4 separate regions of the Homo sapiens genome follow, and all the other regions are linked to region 2. Evidence: promoter capture Hi-C in 16 types of primary human blood cells and fetal thymus (Javierre and others, 2016). All regions are on one chromosome and are shown on one strand. The core of a region is centred on a gene start or on the middle of the fragment in contact, and the rest is flanking DNA. Distances in the headings are between cores, read along the strand shown.

Region 1 (6,056 bases), core at 1,505-4,004, 210 kb before region 2:
TTTCCTAAGCCGCTGGGTTGATGATGAAAAGAAAGCCTTAAGGAGTTGCTAAGGCATTGTCGTGTCATGATTTTCATATCAAGGGATTTGAGGAGACACTTCAGGATTCCACTGACAGTAGAATCACATTTTGTTTTTAAAATAAGTTTTGATTTAAAATTCAAATCATATTTAAAATTGTTACCTATATATAAATATGTATTTATATATACTTAAGTATCTGATGTTTAAATATGTTACACATCAACATTTTAACCCGTGAGCGCCATTAACATGGCACTTTATGCTGCTACGTTAACCTAGTTTCGTGCAGGCCTTGGAATAAGGCTCTCCTGCCATCTCTCACTGACAAGTGTCCTGTGCTGGTAAGGTTCCCCTTTGCAGCAATCACCCGCAGTCTTCTTCCAACACATCTCTCACTTTTTACCCTTATCCAGTGGAGTTAGTTCGCTATCTGGCAGCCAGGGTCATCGTTTAAAAAACAGAAGACACCTGATTGTGTCGCTAAACTGCTTTTTAAAAGCCTCCATTCCAGAAGATCACAGCAGATAAGCAAAAAATAAATAAAAAGCCTTCAGAGTATTCCTCTTAAACTAAAGTCCACTGTTACCGCGGCCTGCCTGGCCTTCTGTGGCACTTTGGGCCCATTGCTGTCCTCCTGCTCCCGGACAGCCTTGACTGTTCCCTCGGGCCCCTCTCCACCCGCACGGCATTGCCTCCAGGCTATTTATGGCTGCCCGCACTTCTTTCAGAAAAAGAGCTACAGCATCTTTTTCTGAAATACCCACCCCTTCCTTCCATTAGTCTGTGTCTCCTCAACTTGTGTTAGTTTTCCTCATAGCAGTGGTTTCCTAATAATATGTTTCATGTGTGTTTTTCTTGTTGGTCTGTCTACTCTCGCTAAGAACAGGCTCCCTGAGGTCAGGGGCTCTGTTTGGTTCACTGATGCATCCCCGACACCTGGTAGGTGCTCACTGACTATCCAGGAATGAATGAATAAATCAGATTTTCCTGGTACCCCACAAATAAAGCAAAAATATAGAAGTAAATTGGATGATGAGGCTGATTAAAAAGCTTGGGCTCAGTGGTCAGACTTGGGCAAGTGGCCTAATGTCGTCCCCTAGTAAGTGGACTTAGAGTGGGGTCTCCAAATACGGAGAATCTTTGGGTTGCAGCAGGAGCTTTCACTGACTGCTGCGTGAGTTGCTCGTTCTTTTTCCTTCATCAGGTGCGTAGTTTCTCTGAAAAGCATCACCCAGGTCAGAATGAAAGGAAACTCTCTGTGCAGACCGCTGTATGTGGGACCTTTGAAGACAGTCAAATAGTGTTCAATTCTATAGTAAGCAGATTTTCTTGTTCTCTCTGGAGAATACAGTTTTTGGTAAAAAATTGATCAGGTTATCTTATTCATAAATCGTCTTGAGAGGCAGGTCACAGTTCCCTCATCTGTAAAAGGCAGATTACAGCCCACCTTCTGTGAGCCCCTTGAGGGAGAGCTTAGAGCCCTGCAGAGTGTGTGGCATATGGTATGCCCTTAAAAAGCATCAGTAGAGCAAATGGATATGTCACAAGGTTATCATGAGGCTATGACAGTAGAACTGTCCCGGGAGTTCTGTGAGCTGTGCAGCTTCATGTAGGTTAGTTAATTTGCCAAGTATAGTATATGCTGTCCTTATGCAACTGGCAAGGATGAATCTTAGTTTCCAATGCATTTATTATTATTAATTTCAAAAAAAGAAATATGTAACACAGACTCTGGGAGGCAAGGTCATCTCCTTAACTACGCTTAATAGAGAGGGGAGGTGAGGTGCTGGCACCTGGGAATGTCTTTGTGTCAGCTTTTACTTAAAGGTATTTCAAAACTTCAAGAAAAATGCACATTTCTGAGAGGTGTGTATATCTTAGCCCTACCAAGTATAGAATGTGAAACTGAGAGGGTTACTGAATCTTAGTATCTCGACTGAAAAGCCAATGTGTCATAGTATATTTTGCTAAAATCTTGACTCAATTGAAGAGAAGTAAGGCCCTTAAAATTTTGAGAACTAGGTGACGTGTCTGAAAATTTTGAGAAAAGTGCTTTTCACACCTGTAGGACAAGAAGGTTTCTGCCTTTTTTGCTTATTGGGTTAACTTTCTATAATTTAATAGGAAAGAATGAAAAGGAATAGTATCCAAGGGAAAAGTTAATTGATGATTTTTATTTCTATTTTGCATAAAGTGATTTAATGTTGCATTTCCTGATGTAACTGTAACCAATATCAAAGTTGCTTTTCCTGGCTGGGCATGGTGGCTCACAGCTGTAATCCCAGCACTTTGGGAGGCCAAGGCGGGAGGATCGCCTGAGAGCAGGAGTTTGAGACCAGCCTGGCCAACATGGCAAGATCCTGTCTCTACAAAAAATGAAATTAGCTGGGTGTAGTGGCACATGCCTGTAGTCCCAGCTACTCGGGGAGGCTGAGGTGTGAGGTCAAGACTGCAGAGCCATGTTTGTGCCACTGCACTCCAGCCTGGGTAAGAGCAAGACTCTGTCTCTTAAAAAAAAAAAAAAAAAAGTTGCTTTTCCCGATGTAACTGTTACCAATATTTGTTTTTTCAGGGGATCTTCTCTGGATCAAGCAATGGTGGTGAAAAATGTTTCGCAAGGGCAAAAAACGACACAGTAGTAGCAGTTCCCAAAGTAGCGAAATCAGTACTAAGAGCAAGGTAGGGAAATGGAATTTGGAACAGAATCATAAAGCAGGGAGAGTTTTGTTTCTTCTAGCTGATATTGTATGGAGGATACTGACCGTGGGCAGATCTCCTGATAATCTTCAAACTAGTGTGTTTTAACATTTACTTTTTGCACTAGAGATGCATTCTATGCTTGGCTTCATTTTGTCTGTTCTGGTAGGTTTTCTGAAATTCTTAAATCCATTAAACTAGATGGGACATGACCTATGAATGGTTTCGTTGAAATAAGCACTGATTTAAAAAATTTTTAAATGATAGAAATTGCAGGCATTAAGGGGCTGGGCCTCTTGAATTCTAGGGTTTGTGGTGTGCATAATTACTTTTACTTAAGAGTGAGATTGGCAGATAGCTGTATACCAGAGAGTTTTTGAATGCTGTTGGAAGGTAAGCGTGGATTTAATTCATGCAAAACAAACCGTTGAGGAGCTATTCAACTGGCAACTTTTGTCTCAAGTAATAAAGTGATTTCATTTTGACTGACAGATAATTTTTCAATATAAGAGTATAAAGATAGCTGCATTATATTTGTTCTAGGTTTTTGACACCAATTTTGTTGGTGTTTAGAAGAATGGCAATTTTATTTCTACCTCCTGGACAATGGCACGTGAACACTCATTCATTCACCGAGTATTTGTTGAGCATGGCTGTGTGCCAAACTCTGTTTAAGGGGCATAAAATAGAGCAGTTAGGGAGAGGGAAGAAATTCCTGGCCTCAGAGCTTCCATTTCAGTTGGGGGAGAAAATAATGAATAAATAAGTAAAATATAGAGTTTCAGATGGTGGAAACTAACACGGGGGGAAGAAACTACAGGAATGGAGGGGGTGGGAGATTGGGAGAGGGGCAGTATTCAACAGTCTGGTAGAAAAGGTCTTATTTTCAGGCCGGGCACGGTGGCTCATGCCTGTAATCCCAGCACTTTGGGAGGCCAAGGCAGGCAGATCACCTGAGGTCAGGAGTTTGAGACCAACCTGGCCAACATGGTGAAACCCCATCTCTGCTAAAAATACAAAAATTAGCCTGGTGTGGTGGCACACACCTGTAGTCCCAGCTACTTGGGAGGCTGAGACAGGAGAGTTGCTTGAACCAGGAGTCGAAGGTTGCAGTGAGCTGAGATCACACCACTGGACTCCAGCCTGGGTGACAGAGCAAGATTCCGTCTCAAAAAAAAAAGAAAAGAAAAGGTCTTATTTATTTTTTTCTGCCCCTCCTCCCGAGAAAAGGCCTTGTTTTCTTGGTGGCATTTGAGCAGGGGCCTACAGGAGAAGTGGGGCCATGATAAGATCTGGAAGGATCGCAGTTTAGGGAGAGGAGAGAGCAAAGGCCCATGGGAGGAGTGAGCCTGTGTGTTTGGGGGACAGCAGGGAGACCAGCGTGGCCTGGGCGAGGCAGGTGCAGGTGTTGTGAAGACCTGGGCTTTTACTCTGAGAGTAAAGCAGGGGGCGCCTGGGGCCAGGGAGTGACAGAATATTATATAAGTTTTGTTGGGGGTCACTTTGGCCACTGTGAGCAGGGAAAGGGCAGGAGCAGAGAGACTGCCGGGGAGGATGTGGTAAGAACCTGAGAGATGATGGGGGCTTGGACGGGGTGTGAAGGAAGCGCTGAAACCTCAGGTTCTGCAGAGAGTTTGAGGTGGCACTCATGGGACCCATGGATCGATGATGATGGCTTGTGGAGTATGAGGAAAAGAGAGTTATCGAAGCTTAAACCCTTAACATACCAGGTGCTGTGGGAGGCAGAAAAAGTGATTCATTCCAGGTGTTTCTACCTGGATGCCAGATACCATTTGAGACATGATTGACACCCAGAGACAGTGAATAATTCAGAAAACATGAAGGTGCGTGAGGTAATGACAGATACTGCTTGAGGGATTCAGAGACTGGGGAGGTTGTAGGCCTAAAGTTGTGGAGGAAGTCGTATTAGTTGGAGTTCTCCAGAGAACCAGTAGGATGTGTTTATATCCTAGAGATTTTGATGTATTTTCAAGGTTTATTTTGAAGAATTGGCTGATGTGACTGTGGGGGCTGCAAGTCTGCAATCTGCAGGGCGGGCTGAAGACCCCTGGGAGTGGGAGTGGGAGTGGCAGCTTGAGCCCAAAGGCAGCCTGGAGGCAGCTGGAGGCAGACTCTTCTCCTTGGGAGCCTGAGTCATTTTCCTTTAAGGCCTTCACCTGCTTGGATGAGGCCCGCCCACACGGTGGAGGGTCCTCTGCTGTACTCCATGTCTGCTGGTGTAGACGTTAATCTCATTTAAAGAAACACCTTCACGGCAATGTCTAGACTTGTATTTGACCAAGTATCTGGGTACTTAGCCCAGAGAAGTTGATATATAAAATTAACCATCACAGAAGTCTTCCCAAAAAAAAGCAGGTAGTGAATGAGACCTTAAAATATACGGGTCAAATAGGCATAAATGAGGAAGGGGGTTAGACATCCCAGGCACAGGCAGGAAGCTGGAGGCTGAGTCGGGTCAATGAGTGAGTGAGTGGGATGGGATGGGATGCCGTGACTCAACAGCCTTTTCATGATTTTCCACCCTTGCGAATGCTCTAATTTTAAAGTTGTGTGTTCACTCAGTCCCAGGACCGGGGTGAGGCACAGCACAGAAGGAGGCGTCTCGCAGGGTCGCACAAGGCCCCCTCAGGAGATGCCTCCCTAGACCTTTCATCCCGGGTGCCTGCCGGGCCTCCCATGTGCCACATGTGCCACGCTGTTAAATAACAGCCACATGTGAATGAGACAAAGACACACGACTGCCACTCAGTTTCCAGTCAGGGCAGGGTAAGCTGGCTTATCTCAGCTGAGCTGGTGGCCTTGTAACCAGAAGCACAGAAAGCTGACATTGTAGGAGTCCTGTGCAGCCTTAGAATGGGGAAACGAACCATGTTCTTGGAAGTTTTTGAACTCCTGGAGCTGCTCAACACAGAACCTCCCTACTGCCACTTCCTCAGCCTTAAGCGTGGGGACCCTACAGGGAAATCTCATCTGTGTGGCCCAATGTCTTGTTTTATTTTTATTTTTGGAGACGGAGCCTCACTCTGTCGCCCAGGCTGGAGTGCAGTGGTGTGATCTCGGCTTACTGCAACCTCTGCCTGTGGGTTCAAGCGATTCTCCTGCCTCAGCCTGCCAAATAGCTGGGACTACAGGCATGTGCCACCAAGCCTGGCTAATTTTTGTATTGTTGTGTTTTTTTTTGTGTGTGTGTTTTTGTTTGTTTGTTTTGAGATGGAGTTTCACTCTTGTTGCCCAGGCTGGAGTGCAGTGGCGTGATCTTGGCTCACTGCAACCTCCACCTCCTGGGTTCAAGCTATTCTCCTGCCTCAGCCTCC
Region 2 (6,158 bases), core at 1,673-4,172:
GCTGTGCATGGTGGCGCATGCCTGTAATCCCAGCTACTTGGGAGGCTGAGGCAGGAGAATCGCTTGAACCTGGGAGGCAGAGGATGCAGTGAGCCAAGATTGTGCCATTGCACTCCAGCCTGGGCAACAAGAGCAAAACTCCGTAACAAATAAATAAATAAATATAAAATTAGTTTGCTAGTTCCGTGATTCATTTGTTTAAACATAAGACCAAGAGCTTGCAAATTTTATTTATTTGTTAAATGAGTAACTTTATGTCATGATACCCTCTCATGTTTCGTCTCAGTATGAGAAGATTTTTGTTTAAAACCAAAATACTGTACACATCAATTGTTATTAAACCATACATAGAACAAGTTTTGGTAATAGACACGAACATTAGACACCTGGGAAAGAGCATTATTTAAAGAAATCCACATTGATTTACCTCAGAAAGTGAACAACTTTCAAATTTAGTTATAAAACCAAGCTCACACATACCATCATCATAGCATGTATGTAGATTTGCTTAAAGTGAAATAAACCTGAAATGATTTTAATTTTTCCATTTTGAGACTTGAACCAATTCTTGGGCTTAGACGGCAGCATGAAGCAAGCTTGCAATTTAATGAAATGACCAAATCCAGTCTCTTTGTAATCTGCTCAGTAACTGAGCTCTAGGGTAATCTCCTGCACAGCATACAAAAAGAGCTTTGGAATTATACACTGTAAACTAAAATTAATCAGAGAAAGGTATGCCAATTTTAATAGCAATTCTTGTTTGCTTGGCTTTCCAACATCTGCCAGTGTTAATAATATTTAACTGACAAACTGCAGTGGGGAAAAGCAACAGAACTTTAAACATAATCAAGCTTTCTAAAGAAAGACATCATGCACAATGCTTCCTTCCCTTAAGAAATATTCAGCTACCTTTTTGGTTGCAATCATTCCATAAACATTATTAATGGTGTATTCTCAAAACACCGTGCTTTTTAACTGGCACTTAGGAAAAAATTTCATTCACCCATCCCCATCTGCCTCATTTGAAGGCATCATCTGTAAGCCTTGCTGCTAAAAGTAGAATTAAGTGATCTGGGGAATCACCGAATTCATAGGAAAGGTTTACATGCAGCTCTCTTCCGCCAAATTAAATGGAGAGAAGGAAGGCTACCCAAGTTATATTAACAGGATTCAGAATGCTGAATGTTACTTTTGACTCCCTTTTATTGACTGTTTACAGCTACAAAGAAAAAATTTTTCCATTAAGGGAAAACATTCTGGATTTTTTTTCAAGCAATTCCTAATAGCAGATGCTTTGTTCAAATGGGAAAAAAAAAAAAAAACCAGAAAAAAAAAATAACGCCATTGCTTCATTTAAAGCTCTTTGGTGACACCCACCCCCCCACCCACACACACACTCCTGCTAGCCCAGGCGTCTTCTGCTAAAACACCTGCAATACCCAATTTTAAAACTGTAACCTGACATCCTGGCCCAGAGACATTTAATCACAGATTCACTATTGCCACACGTGTGACTTGTAAACCTATTCTGAGCCGAGCAGAGTGCTAAGCACTTCACACAGTCTCTGATCCTGGAAAGGATGCATTACTAATCCCGTTTGATGGGTAAGGAAAAGGAGGACTGCAGGTGAGGATGTGCCTCAAACCACAGCCAACGGTGGCCCCTGGACTCACAGACTCTGCCCCTTTCCCCACGGCTTTAATTTTCAACCAAGCTTCTTCGTTCCTACGTGTTCCTCTCCCCAGGACCTGGAGAGCGTACTGCTTAGCAGCTAGGCGTGATGACTTTGCACCTTGAGAGCACTTTACTAAAACCAGGCCTTTTCCAGGTTGAGGGGGAAGGGCGGCATTCCGGGTTCAAGCAGGTGAGACCCAGGTAACCGGGGAGCGGCTCCTGGAGGCTTCTTGGACCCAGAAGCGCCGACTCTCACACACCTTGCCCGCAGTTCCTTCTCCGGGCACGGGTGGAGCGCAGCCAGGCCGCCCTGGCTGAGGCGGGCACGCCTTCCCGGGCAGCCCGGGATGCCCCGGACCCGCGGACCCGAGGGTGGGGGCCCTGCGGCGCTCGGGGGCTGCGGCGGGGAGCTCGGAGCGCGGAGCTGCCCCCGCCGGTCCACTTCAAGAACAAGTTGATAAGGTCCGCACCGGGTACCAAAGACCCCGGGCGGCGGCGGGCGGCGGCGGGCAGCGGGATCCCCCGCTCGCCGCGGACCCCGACTCTGGACAAAGTTGGCCGCGCTGCGGGGAAAAGACCAGGCCGCGGAACCCCGCGAGGGCCACGAGGCCGAGAGAGGGGAGGTCTTAAAGAGGCCCAAGGTGGCCATCACCCATCTCCTCCGAGCCACCTAGGCGGGAACAAAGGGCTTCTGTCTCGGGCAGGGTTGGCCCGGCCGCGTCCGGCTTCGGAGCAAAGAAAGTTTTCTCGGGATGCGGATGCGGGAGCGGCGGGCGGGGCTGGGGCGCGGGATACCTGCGGCCGGAGCCGCCGCGCAGGCCGCCTCACCTCCTCGATGGCCGCCACAGTGTTCCGGCACTGCGCCGTGCGGGTGGTGAAGCTGGAGGCCGTGGGCGCCTTGTAGTCCTCATGGGTCTCGGCCACGAATTCCGACACGGAGATCTGGTCCGGCATCGCCTCGGCGCGAGGGCGCTGGCGCACAGCCGCAGGGGCGCCGCCGCCTCAACTGCCGCAGCAGGCTCCGACCGCCGCTCGGACACCGCCGCTGCCGCCGCCGCTCCGGCCCGCGGACAAAGGGGAGCGCCGGGCGCGGGAGCCGCGCGGGGCCTGGCGGCGGAGCAGGGGCGGCGCGCAGCCCCGCGCAGCTCGGCCGGTCCGCCCGCCTGCGCGCCGAGGGCTCCGAGTCCGCTGCCGCCGCGTCCTCTCAGAGCGAGCCCCGAGGCGGGCGCGCACAGCCGGCGGGAACTACCCGCCACCCAGCCGCGGGCCCCGACGCCTCCCGCGGAGAGGGGCGGGTCCGGGCCGGGGGCGGCGGCCGGCCGGGCGTGGGGCGGGGCGGCGGGAGGACCGGGCCGCCAATCGGCGCGCTCGCCGCTGCCGCGCCGCCGGGAAGCGGATCCCGCAGGAAGGAAGGCGGCGCGCGCCCCGGCCCGCCGAGCCGTTCCTGGCCGCCGCGCGCCGCATTGTCTCGGCGTTCCGGGCCCCGCGCGCCGCGCCCATGCCCCGCCCCCAGCCGGCCCGAGGCCCCGACTCCGACCCGCTGCCCGCGAGGGTGCGTGTGGAGGTGCGCCCCGCCGGAGTCCGGCCTTGTGCGCGCCAACCGCCCCCCGCCCACGGCGCGGAGCACCTCTGGGCTCCCCACTTGAACGGCGGGCCGCGCCGGCCCATGAGGAAAGCGGGGTGCGGAGCTCGCCCCCTGCCGGAGGATGCGCTCCGCCGGCGGGCACCCTGCGGGGACCACAGCCGGACGCCAGAAGTGACCTGACCGTGAATGTGCGCTTTGCGTGCAGTCATTGCATCGTCGCAGGCCTAGGAGACAGATGAAGAGATGGGTGCTTATTTTATATAGGGGACACAGTGTGCCCAAGAGCACAAGATAAACGGCCGGGTGGGGATTCAAACCCATGTTCCCTGACTCAAGTGTGAGTGCTTCAGAGCGGTGAGGGGCCCCTACTAAAAGTCCCAGTCGCGTTTCCTAGGCTGCCCAATGATAGGTATTCTCGGTTATAGTTTTAGGGTACTAGGCCAGGACCCACCCTGGGAAGGCTGCTGAACGCCCTGAAGTGGTATTCCCGCAGGCAGAGGAGGGAACCGAGGGGGTGCAGGAGGAGGAGGAGGGGGAGAACGTGCTACAGCAGCCAGCCAACCTCACACAAAACCGGGCCAGTAAAGGGTTCGAACTGGTACCGATTTTTATTTACAGCTCTTAAGGAAATTCTCGGTTATACTGAAAAATCCAGAAGCTCTGAAGATACCAGTCAAATAAAATCACACCCTATAACTCTACACCAGACTTGTGGCATGGTTTCTGTAGCTGCCAGCGGTAAAACCAAGAGAAACTTTACAAAAACCTTTTGTGCATCTGAAAAGGAGGAAGTGTGAGAGACACTGGAAATTCAATATGTCAGACAAAGCCGTCTCCTGACACTGCAGGACAGTAGACCAGTCAAACAATCTTTTTAAAGCCCCCATGTAAGAAGTTGCTATATGAGGTGGCAGCTTGGGTCAGACATTATGTATGGCCTTTGGTATTTTAGTAGCACTGCATGTAAAATTTAACTTTCTAAAATCGCTGTATTCGTGGATAGCTTTTATCATTGCACTAGACAACAAGTTACAATTTAAAAATTGTATCTGTTTCTTTTTATGTTTTTTGATCCTTTTGGTGTCTGAAGTTTTCCTCTATTTGCAACCTTCTACAATTCATGTTTTGTGTTTATTATTTATATTAATACATCCTCTCCAACACCAGGCAGATTCTGTTCCCGCCTACCTAGTTTCCCAGCTACAGTTTTTGACATGAGGGAATATGCTGAATAACTTTTCAAGTCTTGATTTGTAGAGGGCTGGTCTCTATGAGGCTATGAGGGATCTAAGAAAGAAAGTCGGGTTTTTCCTTGATGTCTAGTACAGCATTAACCAGACTAATCAATACTTCTACAAGGACAAAGTTAAGCTTGGTATTCTCTGTTCTCTCTTTATATACAACTCCGGTTCTTGTTTCTTTTAGTTTAATTTTGCAGATACAGGAAGCTTTAGTAGCCTCAAAAAAATAAAATTGCAAAGCTGTGTTGCATTGCAAGGCTGGTGGAAAACAACAATTAGTTACCAAGTTCATTGGTGGCCTAAAGAGGATACCAAATTGGTAGAATGCTAGAGCCATTTATTCCTCCATCATCCCTTAGAAATCTAACTTGCCTACTGCATAAGCCTAGAATTAAAGCAAGACCAGAGCAAAACATAGCTAATGCCTTTCTGAGATTAATATAAGAATGAGTAGCTTCCAATAAATAACAATAAAATTAAAGTTCAACATGGATCAAGGAAACACTCTACACATACTCATTTTTTTAAATGCATCAAGAGAAGAAGAGTATGCTGGTAATGTCCTTACAGGCCTATACTTCCTTAACCAGAATTACTAAAAATCCCTGAAAATGTAGCTTTACAAATAGTTCTTAATAGTAAAATTCATCTGAAATGAACTGATGTGAGGCTATGTGTGGTCTTGTTTATCCTACCTCATGTGAATATGTATGTTTTGCTGCAAAATATAAACATGGTTGATTATGAAGTATTGCCCCAGACCCTACTGGGGGTAATTAGGAATATGTTATTATATGCAATGTGTTACCTTTCTAAAATCCGAAAATTTCTGAATCCACACATATCTGGCCCTTGGGGTTTCAGTAAGAGATTGTAGGCCTGTATTATTTTTTTTTAAAAAAAAAGGCGAAGAAAAAGGAGGAAGGAAGAAGGAGAAGGAAAGGAAGAGGAAAAGGAGAGAACGAAAACGTGATGTTAAAGACATCGTTTCCAGAGAAGAGACTCTCCTCCCAAAAATGAAATTTTTAGCGGCCCAGTGAGATTGGCCAACAGCCCATTTTCCAAAGGAATCTTCTGCCTCTAGTAGTTCACAAGAACCTGGGATTTATCACTCTCAGATCAAGGTGTAAAATATGTTCTTGACTCTGAAATTTGCTTGAGGGTTGGCTGGTTTACACAAGACTTGTCCAGTTCACTTGCTATTAACTTGTAAATGATTACTCTTGGAATGGGCAAATATGTGCTTTGAAAGAACTATGGTAAGAAATAGTAACAACAACCTAAAAACCCTGGTGATGTGAACATGGAAGTATAACTGAAAGTTTCTTTTCGTAACTTAATAATACTCTGCCCAAAATCGTGTTGCTGAAGGGACCCATTTATCCCCAAAGTGAGAGAAGATTGAGTACATTTACCACAGTTATCTCACTTTAGCACCCAGAAACTATTTTACAAATGAAAACTTGGGTTTTGGTAATAAATTGCTTCTCTGTGATAAGTAAGCTAGCCTCCCTAGGCCGGGCGCAGTGGCTCACTCCTGTAATCCCAGCACTTTGGGAGGCCGAGGCGGGCGGATCACGAGGTCAGGAGATCGAGACCATCCTGGCTAACACGGTGAAACCCCGTCTCTACTAAAAATCCAAAAAATTAGCCGGGC
Region 3 (6,557 bases), core at 3,802-6,301, 150 kb before region 2:
AACTAGAACCACCATATAACCCACTTCTGGGTATTTACCCAAAAGATCTGAAATCAGTTTGTTGAAGACACGTCTTCACCATCTTGTTTACTGCAGCACTATTCACAATAGTCGAGATAGGGAATCAACCTAAATGCCACCAATGGACGAATGGATTTTAAAAATGTGGTATATATACATAATGGAATACTATTCGACCTGAAAAAAAGGACATTCTGTCATTTGTGACAACATGGATGAACCTGAAGGACATTATACTAAGTGAAATAAGCCAGGCAAAGAAAGACAAATCCTGCAAGATCTCATTTATATGCAAAATCTAAAAAAGCTGAACTCATAGAAGTAGAGAGCAGAACTATGGTTACCAGGGGTTGGGGGTGGGCATGTTGGTCAAAGCATGCAAAATTTCAGTTAGGATGAATAAAGTCTAGGGATCTAGTGTACAACACAGTGACTCTACTTAATAATAACGTACTGTATACTTAAAAATTTTGTTTTGAGACAGTCTCACTCTGTTGCCCAGGCTGGAGTGCAGTGGCAAGATCACAGTTCACTGTAGCCTCAACTTCCTGGGTGCTCAGGTGATCCTCCTGCCTCAGCCTCCCAAGTAGCTGGGACCACAGGTACTTGCCACCACTCCCAGCTAGTTTTAAAAAATTATTTGTAGAGATGGAGGTCTCCCTATGTTGGTCAGGCTGGTCTTGAACTCCCAGACTCAAACAATCTTCTCACCTCAGCCTCCCAAAGTACTGGGATTACAGGCGCCGGCCACCACACCAGGCTCAAGAGAGTAGATTTTAAGTGTTCTCACCACAAAACATAAGCATGTGAGGTGACAGATATGTTAACTAGCTTGATTTAGTCACACCCAATGTATACAACATACTAAAACATCATGTTGTACACTATAAATACATGCAATAAAAAATTAATTAAAAAAATAAAATCCTTTGCTGTCACAGCATGTCACCCTGAAACAGAGGCTGTTCTATTTACCCAAAAGAGGAGAGATGCTACTCCTGTGAGAGAACCTGTCCAGGCTGCACCCACCACTCTCCTTTCACAAGGCACCAAGGGGCCTAATGAACACTCACTATACAATAAAACATACTTCAATAAGCAAGTCAGCCGAGGCCCTGCATGGCATGCAACTCTGAATTGGAAAGGTTCGTAAGAACAGACAACCAGACAGACCATGCATGGCCTCCCTGGGGGTTCACATGCTAGCACATGGGGACCATTTTTCTGAAAGGATTTTGTTAAAGGAGATAACAATGATAACTAATACTTTATGGTTCTTAACGGTGTGTCAGACATAATTCTAAATACACACACACACACACACACACACACACACACACACACGCAGAGAAAGAGATAAGATAAAGAGGTAAAAAGACTTCAGGAAATCCTTCATCCCAGTACCTGATTGTCTAAGCAAAATAAAACAATCTGGATACTTTTAAAAGGCTTGAGGCCAAGCGCAGTGGCTCACACCTGTAATCCCAGCATTTTGGGAGGCCAAAGCAGGAGGATCACTTGGGTCCAGGAGTTCGAGACCAGCCTGGACATGGCGAAAGACCATCTCTACCAAAAATGCAAAACTTAGCCAGGCGTGGTAGCACTTGCCTGTAGTCTCAGCTACTGAGGAGGCTGAGGTGGGAGGATTGCTTGAACCCAGGAGGCAGAGGTTGCAGTGAGCTAAGATTGTGCTACTGGACTCCAGCCTGGGTCATGGAGTGAGACCCTGTCAAAAAAAGAAAAGGAAAAGGAAAAGAAAAGAAAGGAAGGAAAGAAAGAAAGAAAAAAGAAAAGAAAAGAAAGAAAGAAGCCTTGAAATTTCCAAGCTTTGCCAATGAATACTAACACCTGACACCCTACGTACTGCTTAACTGAAGGGCTAAGGAATAAGGTTTAGAGCCACGACACCATGACCACACTCCTAGCATACAAAAAATGGATTGGGGGAGCCGTGGGGAGATGTCCACCTCCTGTGAACCACAGAGGACCAGCCAGAGCTCAGGGAAAGCAGGGTTGAAGGGAGTAAATCCTACACAATTCACTGCTGTCTCTACTTTTCCTGATAACCACTGAGGAAAAAAGACTTGGGTAAGGGAGAGTTTAAAACTCTGGAAGCAATTAGATTTTGAAAATATCTGCAGACATTGATTAAGCAGGCACTGGCTGATTTCTCATTGTGGGTGACAGCCAACCAAACTTTAAACTCCTACAAGAATGCAGATGGAGGCTCTGGGAGACAGAAATGGAGAATTTAACCAGGCATTAGAAGTCACCTCATCGTTTCATCAAGACAGAACAACATATTCCTTTCACCTTTCTTTGGCATTTTCTTCTTTAGTAGGCAACTCAGTCTCATGAAGAACATGAAATTTCTGAGACACATTTAAAAAATTATAACAGATGGTGGGGTCGGGCTCCTACCAGCTCATATGAGTCAACTGTTAAAATTTCAGGAATTTTGCAAGCCAACTGTTAAGCACTGCTACTATTAAAAATTATGCTATATAAACTCATAATTATGTTACATTAATAACAAGTATATACTCAAAACTCATCACTTCCTAATTATACTGCATTTTACTATTGTCCATGTTCATGAAGTTATTTACATCCACTGTGTTTGCATAGTGAATGTACTATATAATGAACATCTTTTTCCAACTTCACATTGAGTAATTCACTTAGGTAGCTTGAAATTGGCCATTGTGGGAGTATTTACACCATGAGAACAGGCAGGTTGCAAACCAGGGTTCTTTTTTCTCCAGAGTTGACTGTTAAACATTTGTTGGGGACGGTGATAGGGAAGGACAGTAGAGATGTTTAAATGTTTATCATCTAGCAAGACAACCCACTAAAATGCCAATTTGTGTCCCAGGCTCGTCAAAGGTTTAAGTGTGAGGTCTGGTATCAGATTAAAGAGGCCCACACCCCAGATCTGTCACCTTAAAAGCTTCATAACCCTAGGCATACTGAAACATTCTAAGCCTCAGTTTCCTCCTCTGTAAAATGGGGATAATATACCAAGGTCATCAGGTTGTTACTGGAGATCAAATGAGCCTAGTATATATAAAGTGGCCTGCAAAATACATAGTACAAAATAAACAATTATTACATCATCTTGAATCACTTAACACTTTCCATTGTTTTAAGAAAATCAGTAAAAGAAACAACTGCCATAGTTCACCAGTGTTTACTGAAAAGTACTTTGTGCTTCTTTGAAAATGTACCATGACAACCTCCAATCTATGCCATCATCAGTTATCCAAGAGATACCACATGTACACCTGTGCACCTCTCTAAGCTGTAGGTTACGTGCATTATTACATGAACAATAATTGCTGTATGTAACCAGGAAGGCACTGTTTGGAGTTCCTTAGTTTTACATTTTAAGTGAGTCTAGCTTAGTTTTAAACTGTAAGTAACTAAGGATGTTACTAACTAGGCTGCCAGGATCCACTGTAGTTTCTCCCAACTCTGTCTTTCAAGACCATAAAGGAATTCCTAGAAAGACTGGAAAGGTTTGACAAGAGAGTTCAAAATGCATTCGAAGTTCAGACACACTGGATTCGAAGTCATCAATAAGACTGATGGCCCCTTGAGAGGAACATGGTCCACAACTATTGATTTTCTGTCAAGACTATTGCTCTTGACGTTAAATTCCCTACATGTAAACTTTTAAATTCAACATTAAAATCAATGCCAATCACTATCTACTTACTGTTTACTGTCAACATCCAGCTATCCCAGGAGAGAATTCAAGAACTGCTTTCTAGGGAAGACAGTCATGAAAGCTCATGTATTAGGTGGCCAGAAGCACCCTGTCTGATGGACCTTGTGGGACTACAGTCTCGATACTCTTGAAAGCCACTTCACAGAAAATGCTTCTGTCTCCTCCTATCTCTATCACATGGCTTAAGTGTTACCACTGAACCAAGAATGAAAGACTTAAGAAACAAAGGCAGTAAAAATGAAGACCAATATCTCCCCCCATGGGGGACAATCTGGGGTAGGGAGAAGTCGGAGGCTTGAGGCAAGTTGTCACCACAGCCTTGTCAGAAATCGCTGGTGATAAGGGAAAACAAGTACTTTCCTGTCTTTAGACGTTGCATTCCACATCTGTCTAATGGATGGGGTGAGCTGGTCTATGTCACCATCTTACTCCATTTCTGTAGAATCTCACACCACTCTCAATGCTCCTGTTTTGGTTTCACTCCCCTTTATTCATTTAAGAATAAAGTTTTGCAACAAGAAGTGCCCTCAACCACAAGTAGCTAAAAATGAAGAATTATCAATGAGTTTCTAATTATCCAAACCAATCTGGCAACATATCAACAACCACTAGCTTACCAAAATGGATTAGAATGCCAAAAGTAAAATTTAGCTTACAGCTCATTTGTTTCCAATCTGAAATCAAGGATTTAAAAATTACCAGCAGCTCAGATGTTCCCAGTACATCTAAGGTCAGGGACTGCATCCTGGAATAATGAACCCCCAGCTCTCGGTGGATTCCGGAACACTCGATGCAGGTCAGGATGCCCAGGTTGGTGGAAAGCCATGTAGGATCTGCCAAAGAGAACAGGGCAGATTTGAGCTTCCAGTAAAAAAGAGGGTCAGGAGTCACATCTTTCTTCCTGCATAGTTACTGAACAAGCAGTTCTGAGCATGAGCATTTTCTGATCCTTAACACAGCTGGAAACTTTGTCCATAATTACCACCAATTTACATGCAATACCCAAATATGCACACATCTACTCTCCCTCTTCTTCCCTCTCTCTCCATCTCCCCATCCTTCCATTCATGTGACAGGTGCTGTGTGTGCAAAAATAAACAGGACACACTCCAGTGACCAAGGGCTCCTCAATGGCTGGTGGTGAAAACACACCATGCCCATCACCAACTTGGTCACACTAGCAGAATGGAGCAAGAGGAAAACAATGAGACCAGCCAAAGTCTACTTGTAAAAGGGGAATAGGCTTAAAACATATGCATCTACAGATGCTGATAATAACAGAGAACGTACTATGTACATAAGATATGCTGTGTTCAGCATGCTGGTAGTAGCAATAACAGTTTGTGTTGTTAAGAGCTTCAGCAATCACAGAGCACTTTTGTATCAAATCTAAGAGTTCCATGAGATGACCAGGGCAGGGATTTTTATCTCACTATATGGCAGAGACAGCTTTGCGATGCTCAGGCTCGAGGTCGCCAGGGAGTGCAGAGCAGACTGTGGCCCTGCCTCTACCTGAGTTCAAAGCCACGTTTTCCCCTCACAGCTCGGCTACTCACTAACATGACCTACCATACATTTAGCAGATGATAGGGACCCACAAAATGCTTGACAGATGAATGTGGAATTTGCTAAAAATGGGAAATTAAAAATAAGATGTCCTTGAGTACATCATCACAACCCATAAATACAATTCTCTTCAGAACTGTTTGTTGCCCTGAGAAACTCACGGCAGGTAAATATCGCAACTTTAGTCAGTAGGAAATCATGAAGTTATTTTTTAAATGTTCAAGTTATTAAAAATGTTATCCATGTTGGAAAACCTTCTTGGCGTCTGTGTCTGCACTTGTGTAGGACGACTCCACTGTATTTGTGCTTTGCGGAGGTACAAGCATCCATTTAGGTGACTCTACATCATTTTTATATTACCCACACTGTCTTGGCATTTTAAAATAATGAGTACATACCTTTGAGTTCTTTATCAAAGCGTATGAAACACCCAAATCATAGACTGTCTTTACCCTTTCTCAAGAAAGACCATGATTCACTACTTATCACCCCCTACCTCATCTCCTGCCAAAAACGTATTTTCGGGTTTTTTGTTTGTTTGTTTTAAATACAGTCTCGTTCTGTTGCCCAGGCTGGAGTGCAGTGGCGTGATCTCAGCTCACTGCAACCTCTGCCACCTGGATTCGAGTGATTCTCCTGCCTCAGCCTCCTATGTAGCTGGGACTACATGTGCGCACTACCACGCCGGGCTAATTATGGTATTTTTAATAGAGACGAGTTTTCACCATGTTGGCCAGGCTGGTCTTGAACTCCTGACCTCAAGTGATCCGCCCGCCTCAGTCTTCCAAAGTGCCGGGATTACAGGCATGAGTCACTGCACCCAGTCGGTATTCTTTTTTTTTTTTTAATGGATCCAAGGCCAAATACAGTCTTCAGGGTCATGGGAACCTAAAGGTAATTCTCAACTGTCCACTCTTATTTTGGTTGTGTTTGGTTTTTTAAGAAAAATTGTCATAGAATTAGAGGAATGAAAAGGGGATTAACCATTCTAGCCAAGCCTCCATCTTTTTCATTTTATAAATGTTCAGAAAATGCACCTGTGTAGTCCCCGACCCCCACTCCCCACCATTGTGTCTCAATTAGAATAAGCAAATTCCTTAAATCACATCCTACTATAAAGCCCCTAATATGCTTTATCAAAATGTAAAAATAAAATCTTATTTCACAGAATGTGTCAGCTGAAAGGGTCCTGTCCCTTCACTTTACAGACAGGAAAATCGATGTTTAACAAAGCAAGTGG
Region 4 (6,121 bases), core at 657-3,156, 130 kb before region 2:
AAGATAATATGGTAAGTGCTCTACAGAAATTATCTCTTAGATCTCCTGAAAACTCTGAGGTTGGCTGTATTATTCCTATTTGACAGACGGGGAGACCATGACATGGAGAGGTCCAGGAACCTGCCCAGTGTCACAGGGCAGGGTAGGAAGTGGGAGACCCAGGATTCAAATGCCAAGATCCATGCTCTTCTGCTCTGCTAGACAGCTCCCCAGGCAACCCCGTCCTAGTCAGAAGCTGTCCTCTCCACCAGCCTCACCTGCTGGGACTCTGCTAACTCCTGCCCCGTCCCCAGTTTTTTGTTTTTGTTTTGGAGATGAGGTCATGCTCTGCTGCCCAGGCTGGAGTGCAGCAGTGCGATTTTGGCTCACTGCAACCTCCACCTCCCAGGCTCAAGGGATCCTCTCACCTCAGCCTCCCGGGTAGCTGGGACTACACGTGCATGTCACTACAACTGGCCAATTTTTTTGACTTTTGGTAGAGATGGAATCTCACTATGTTGGCCAGGATGGTCTTGAACTCCTGGACTCAAGCAATCCACCTGCCTTGGCCTCCCAAAGTGCTGGGACTATAGCTGTGAGCCACCATGCCTGGCCTGCCAACTCCTAATCATCCTTCTAAGCTCCATCCCAGGTATCACAGCCTTTGGGAAGTCATCCCTGATGGCACCTGCCCAGCCCGCACTGGGCAGACACTGCTTCCTGGAGCTGATGTCCACGAGTGCTCTCATTACACTGCACCCCAATTGCTTCTCTGTCCCCACCCCCAGAGCATGATCCCCTGAAGAGATGATAACCTGATCCATCTTGTTCTGTTGTGTTTGTGGAGTGCTGGCTTAGGGTAACAGTGGAAGAAAGGGTAGCTGGATGTGTGAATCAACAAACGAGTCCTCCACTGAGGGTGACATGGAGGCCAGAGCCAGGCTACCTAGCAGCTTGGCAGGAGAGGCAGGCAGGTGGCCCCTGGCAGAGATCTCTGTGATGAAGGCCAGATTTGGGCATGTAAGATACGCGAACCCAGAGGCAGAAGAAAATTATGGCTGTGGTGGACCTTGGCTGCCTGGGTGGCACAAACTGTTCTATCACATCCTACTAGACAGGATGCTTGAAAAAGAGGGAGCAAGAGAAAGAGAGAGAGAGAGAGATAGAGACAGACAGAGAGAGATAGACAGACACAGACAGACAGAGAGAGAGAGAGAGAGCAACCATACTTGAGATCTGCAGAGTGGAAAACCATGGTGGTTTCAGCACTCAGACCTGTGAGACCATGCCCCAGAGCCTGATCCTCCCCATAGAAGCACACAAGTCTGGGTTCTCCACATCAAACAGCAGAGAGAGCCTGCACACAAGTGATGAGGCTTTGGGACTCCGCCAGCACCCCAACAGGGTCCATCCTGGCAGAACACCATCGGATGGACGACGTGGGATGGGGAAGGCAGGAGGCGAGGCTGACGGGGAGAGAGCTCAACCAAAGATGAGCAGTGCCAACGAGTTTAACTGTGTAAATAGGATCTTCTCCAAAAATCAAACACTATGGTACATAGTTCGATCCTCATTGTATAATATTGCACTATGGGTGGTCACTGCACAATTTTTCAACTTTTCTCCAAGTATGAAAACCTTCACAAAGAAAAATAATGGAAATACCAAAGAGTAGTATTCTCCTTACAGAGAGCAGAAAATATCAAGAACAAAACATGAATGGCCAGTGATTGGGAGGTGTGAGGTCACCGGGACCAGAACGGCACAAGCTCCACACTAAAACAAAGCTGCAGGGTCACAAGGAAACAGCAGCACGAAGCTACCACACTGGAATGGCCACTCTTCATTCCTTCAATAACTGATGCTTGGGATTTACAGGAAGAGAATGAGGAGCACTGGCTTCTACCAACCATCAAGGCAGTTTCTTTGGGGCATGTTACTTAATTTCTATCAACTGTTATTACACAGGGAGGGTTAGAATTTTTATAACACTGAATAAAAATCCTCTTAACACCTTCAGTTGTCTAAGTCACAGAAGAAAATCCAACCAAAGGGAATGACGGCCTAAACAATAATGACCAAATGATCAATTCTTATTGCAAATTTGAGGTATACAAGATGGAACCCCCATCATAAAAATCATTTTAAAACAGAAAATTTAGCATTTTCACATCTGCTTATTACTTGCAACTGTGTTCAAAGATTGTCCAACTTGCTGAATGCCATCACCTAAAAGCAACGCAGAGCATGATACACAGAAAACACAACACGCCCACAACTAGGAGACTGTTGAGTTAGGTCTTGACAAGGAGCCAACTGGGCAGACAGCCAAAGAAGAATAGTAAAGGAGGTTCATTTGATCCCTCTGTGCAATCAGGGGCAGATGGGCTGGTTAACAAAAAACAACAAACTATAAAGAACTTCTGGTCTGTGCTGGTAAATTTGTTATTACTTTCCTGCGAAGCTGTAAATAACCAGTTCTCTCACAACAGCCCGTTTTCCCAAACCTCCTAATTCTGCACAGGCAAAGCAAACACAGCCTTTGCACTGTGCCCAGAGGGCCATTTGGCCCCAGCAGCTGCTCTGCCTTATTTTAAACCTGAGCTTTGCTTCATGGGTTGGATCTTCCTTCTTAGACAAAGGCAGTTCTCGATCATTTCCAACGGTGCGCTGGGGAGCAGCCACCTTGGACGGCATTCTGGCTCCTGCCCTCGCACTACCTCCTCCTCGTTACCGCTAGCCCACTATTTTCTCCTTACGCCAAGTTTTTTTTCCTTTTTTTGCTTATTGGGAATATCAAAGCGTCAGGGCCTACATTCTCTAGACTAGGAGGAAGTCACCATGTTGTAGGTCCTTTCTAGCACTAAATATAACCTTGCTCTGCCAGTGTCTCACTTAGTTGACCCATGTTTACCAAAATCCTACTAAATGAGCGCTGTGGCACTACAGTGTGATGGAAGAATGGCTCAGAAGGCAGGGTGGCATCCTCAGGCTGCTCGAGGTCCAGCTGGTGAAAAGCCATCTGTGCACTTAAGGCACAACCAACACTCAAAAAGAGGAATAGGCTGTGATTCAAATGGGGCATTCAAACAGGATGTGCTCTGTGAACTCAGATCACTGTGGGCTGGGGTGATCAGAGGCAGCGCTCCAGAGGTGGGGCTTCAGAGGGACTAGAGAGATGTGTAGAATTCAGCCACTCAGGGGAGAGAAAGGGAGGGAGGGAGGGACCTGCTTCATCTTCATAAAGGAACAGCAGCAAAAGTGTAAACTGTAAACCCAGAAAATGTCCACTTCCCTAATATTTATGCAAACTCTTCAGCCTTTAATAAAGTCTACAACAATGAAAGGTGAGGGGTTAAAATAAAAAATGCTACTAACCATTAATATATAAAAGGAATATATATATGTATGTTCACGAATAAAACATGCAAAATTCTGCAATTTATTAAAATACTGAACTACTTACTCTCCTAGACTTCGGTCACAAAAGGTAAACGCATTTGGGAGAAAAACAACAATATTCAGTTATAGTACAAGAACTTACAATAAAATAGAGCTCACCAAACTGCCAACAGGGAACTTTATGCTGTCAAGTAGTTTAGCAATTTCTCTAAAATCACTAGATATATGTTTAGATACATTCCTTTTATTAACAAGGAAATGGATTTATACTAAATTCACATTATGATACCCACATTGTAGTGAAAATATAGTAAAATTATCTTTAAAACTTACTTTTTAATGGCTTTTTAAAAACAAGTCCCCACAACACAAACTGTCCCTGCTGACGTGTTAGCACACAGAGACGTCATTACAGAAAGAGGGGAAGTAAGAGAACTAAGGATTTCTGCCTGTCATGATGGAGGCAGCTGTAAGAAAAGCTCATGCCTCATATTTTATAGAACACAATCTCAGGGCTGGCAGAGCCCCAGCTGGTCCCCTGCTACGTGCCTAGGCCTAAAGGGGCAGAGTCCACGTATGTCAGGGTAGGGAAATGACACAGGGCCAGGTACAGGATAAATAGCACAAATGACACATGGTCTCTGTGACGAAGCCACTGAGAGCTCCTTATCTAGCAACTGACAGAGCACAGGGTTTATACACCGCCATTAAGGCCATGCATGTAGTAAATGCTTCCTCCTGAAATAAACATATTTTAAAAGATGGTTTTATAGAACTAAATTGCAAGAATACATTAAATGTTTTACTGGTGCCTGACACAGCCCGAGTGAACTGTGAGCTCCTAGAAGACATGAACTTCATGTTCTTCAGACCCAAAGCCTCCAAGAATGGGGTGAAAACTGCAATCTTTCAAAATTAAATCCCCTCACCTCTTTCTGTTCAACCTGCAATGCGGATTTCAAAATATCTCGAAGCTGTATCAACTGCCTTCTTTCTTCATCCTGGGCCTGTTTGATCTTTAAAAACACACACACACAACAGAACCAATCAGAAAATTAAGACTGAGGTACAGTGAAACGTTGGTGCTCATGGGGCCATTTCCACACAATGCGACAACTGCCTCCCTCGCTGGTCAAACCTTCCCTCCCACCAAGACAGAGGACAGGCGTGGGAACGCCACACTCCACGTGGGCGGCACGGCATGAAAACACAGGATTACACAGAAGTGACATTTAGATGAAAATGTCTGTTGCATTAAGATGGTTTTAAACCACAGTGGGAGGGAAGCTACTCACCGTGTGAAGATCCGTAGACAGCGTTTCAATGGAAGGTTTGAGGCTTTCCACGGCTTTGAGTCCATCCTGAAAAAAACTAGCAGGAAAAAGAAGAAACAGAGATGACATTTCACAAAGGAAAAAATAATTTTGTCAGACAGATTAAAAACTTCTTTAAAGTGACTGAAGTCATTATGTAACTCCTGGGGGAAAAGACTGTATGAACAGAACCTTAAAATATCAGGCAAACCAAGAATAAAATGACACTCAAAATTAGCAGGAGCGAACAGAAAAGGAAATGCAATAAGCTTAAGTATTTGAGATTTTTCTCGACCCATATAAAATGAGGCCTTGAGTTTCAGTTTATAACGGGAGAGGTTCTGCATCTGAAGCCAGAAAGGCCATGGGGCGCAAGTGGAAGACACTGAAGAATGTGCCGCAACAGGCGACCGCGACATGGAAAAGAAAAGGAATGCAGAGGCCGGGTGCTGTGGCTCATGCCTATAATCCCAGGGTGAGGGACTTGGGGAGGCCAAGGTGGGAGGATCACTAGAGACCAGGAGTTCCAGACCAGCTGGCCAACATAGCAAAACCCCTAAAAATACTCTATTAAAAATACAAAAAAAAAAAAAACAAATACAAAAATACAAAAAGCTACTACTCGGGAGGCTGAGGCACAAGAATTGTTTGAACCCAGGAGGTGGAGGTTGCAGTGAGCCGAGATCATGCCACTGCATTCTGGCCTGGCGACAGAGTGAGACTGTCTCCCAAAAAAAAAAAAAAAAAAAAAAAAAAGGAGAAAGACAGAGACAGAGAGAGAGAGAAATAATGCAGAAAAGAACCAACCAAGCAGCTTTGGTGGCCACACTGTGTCTGCGGGGTAGGAAACCGTGGGTAGAGAACTTGAGATCAAATATCAAGAGGAATTTTTTATTTTAAGGCTGAGAACTCAATGCTGTGAGGTCACCTATAACAAGTGATTCAGGAAATACAACAGAGGCTGGACAAGTTTTTCTGCTGGAGCCATGGGCTGGTGTTCAGTGCTGCCTCTGGAGGGTGCTGTGTGTAACCCTTTTGAGAGGAATGAAGAACGGGCATTTCCACGAGCTAAGGAGAAAGTTCTAACCTGTAATGAGGCCTGATGCAGCTCCAGCCTCAATCCACACCATTCCACCCTCTTCATTCACTCAGTTCCAGACATACCGGCCTTTTCTCCCTTCCTCCATGACCACCAAGTTCTCCTGCCCCTGGCCCTCTGCATTCTGTTTCTTCTCTCTAAAGCCTTCTCCTAAGGTGTGTCTGCTTCACCTGGCTGATTCCCACTCATTCTTCAAGTTTTAGGTTAAACATCCCCGGTTAGTGAGGCCTTCCATAATCCCCTACAAGTTATTCCCCTATAAGAGGCCTTCTTATACTTTCTCAGAGCATTTTGTATTTTGCTTCAAAACACTTGCTGTAACTGCAAT

Evidence for each region. Contacts are between HindIII fragments. The CHiCAGO score rates a contact against its expected background, and 5 or more counts as called.
Region 1: a fragment that was not itself captured here is called in contact with the fragment with the promoter of ASAP2 in region 2 in 5 of 17 cell types (M1 macrophages, M2 macrophages, endothelial precursors and 2 more); the score reaches 8.2 in M1 macrophages.
Region 3: a fragment that was not itself captured here is called in contact with the fragment with the promoter of ASAP2 in region 2 in 5 of 17 cell types (endothelial precursors, megakaryocytes, M2 macrophages and 2 more); the score reaches 17.1 in endothelial precursors.
Region 4: a contact is called between a fragment that was not itself captured here and the fragment with the promoter of ASAP2 in region 2, in 5 of 17 cell types (megakaryocytes, endothelial precursors, M2 macrophages and 2 more). The highest score is 32.4, in megakaryocytes.

What each region holds. Positions count from the first base shown.
Region 1 is chr2:9,415,273-9,421,328 of GRCh38, reverse strand. It overlaps ITGB1BP1 (integrin subunit beta 1 binding protein 1), which reads left to right. Exons shown (of 7, transcript NM_004763.5): 2 at 2,597-2,703. The coding sequence starts at 2,632. Among named protein-coding and RNA genes, the nearest start is that of ITGB1BP1, 5.2 kb to the left of the region's middle. The HindIII fragment of the contact is 3,356 bases long and covers 1,077-4,432 here.
Region 2 is chr2:9,203,576-9,209,733 of GRCh38, reverse strand. ASAP2 (ArfGAP with SH3 domain, ankyrin repeat and PH domain 2) reads right to left here and starts at 2,922. Exons shown (of 28, transcript NM_003887.3): 1 at 2,504-2,922. The coding sequence starts at 2,629. RefSeq lists enhancers at 1,910-2,840, 2,841-3,773 and silencers at 3,203-3,386, 3,133-3,392. The HindIII fragment of the contact is 2,916 bases long and covers 1,718-4,633 here.
Region 3 is chr2:9,356,783-9,363,339 of GRCh38, reverse strand. ASAP2 (ArfGAP with SH3 domain, ankyrin repeat and PH domain 2) reads right to left here. Exons shown (of 28, transcript NM_003887.3): 15 at 4,451-4,584. Among named protein-coding and RNA genes, the nearest start is that of ITGB1BP1, 63 kb to the left of the region's middle. RefSeq lists an enhancer at 6,287-6,557. The HindIII fragment of the contact is 4,155 bases long and covers 2,974-6,557 here.
Region 4 is chr2:9,333,369-9,339,489 of GRCh38, reverse strand. It overlaps ASAP2 (ArfGAP with SH3 domain, ankyrin repeat and PH domain 2), which reads right to left. Exons shown (of 28, transcript NM_003887.3): 8 at 4,677-4,752; 9 at 4,311-4,397. Among named protein-coding and RNA genes, the nearest start is that of ITGB1BP1, 87 kb to the left of the region's middle. The HindIII fragment of the contact is 6,119 bases long and covers 1-4,965 here.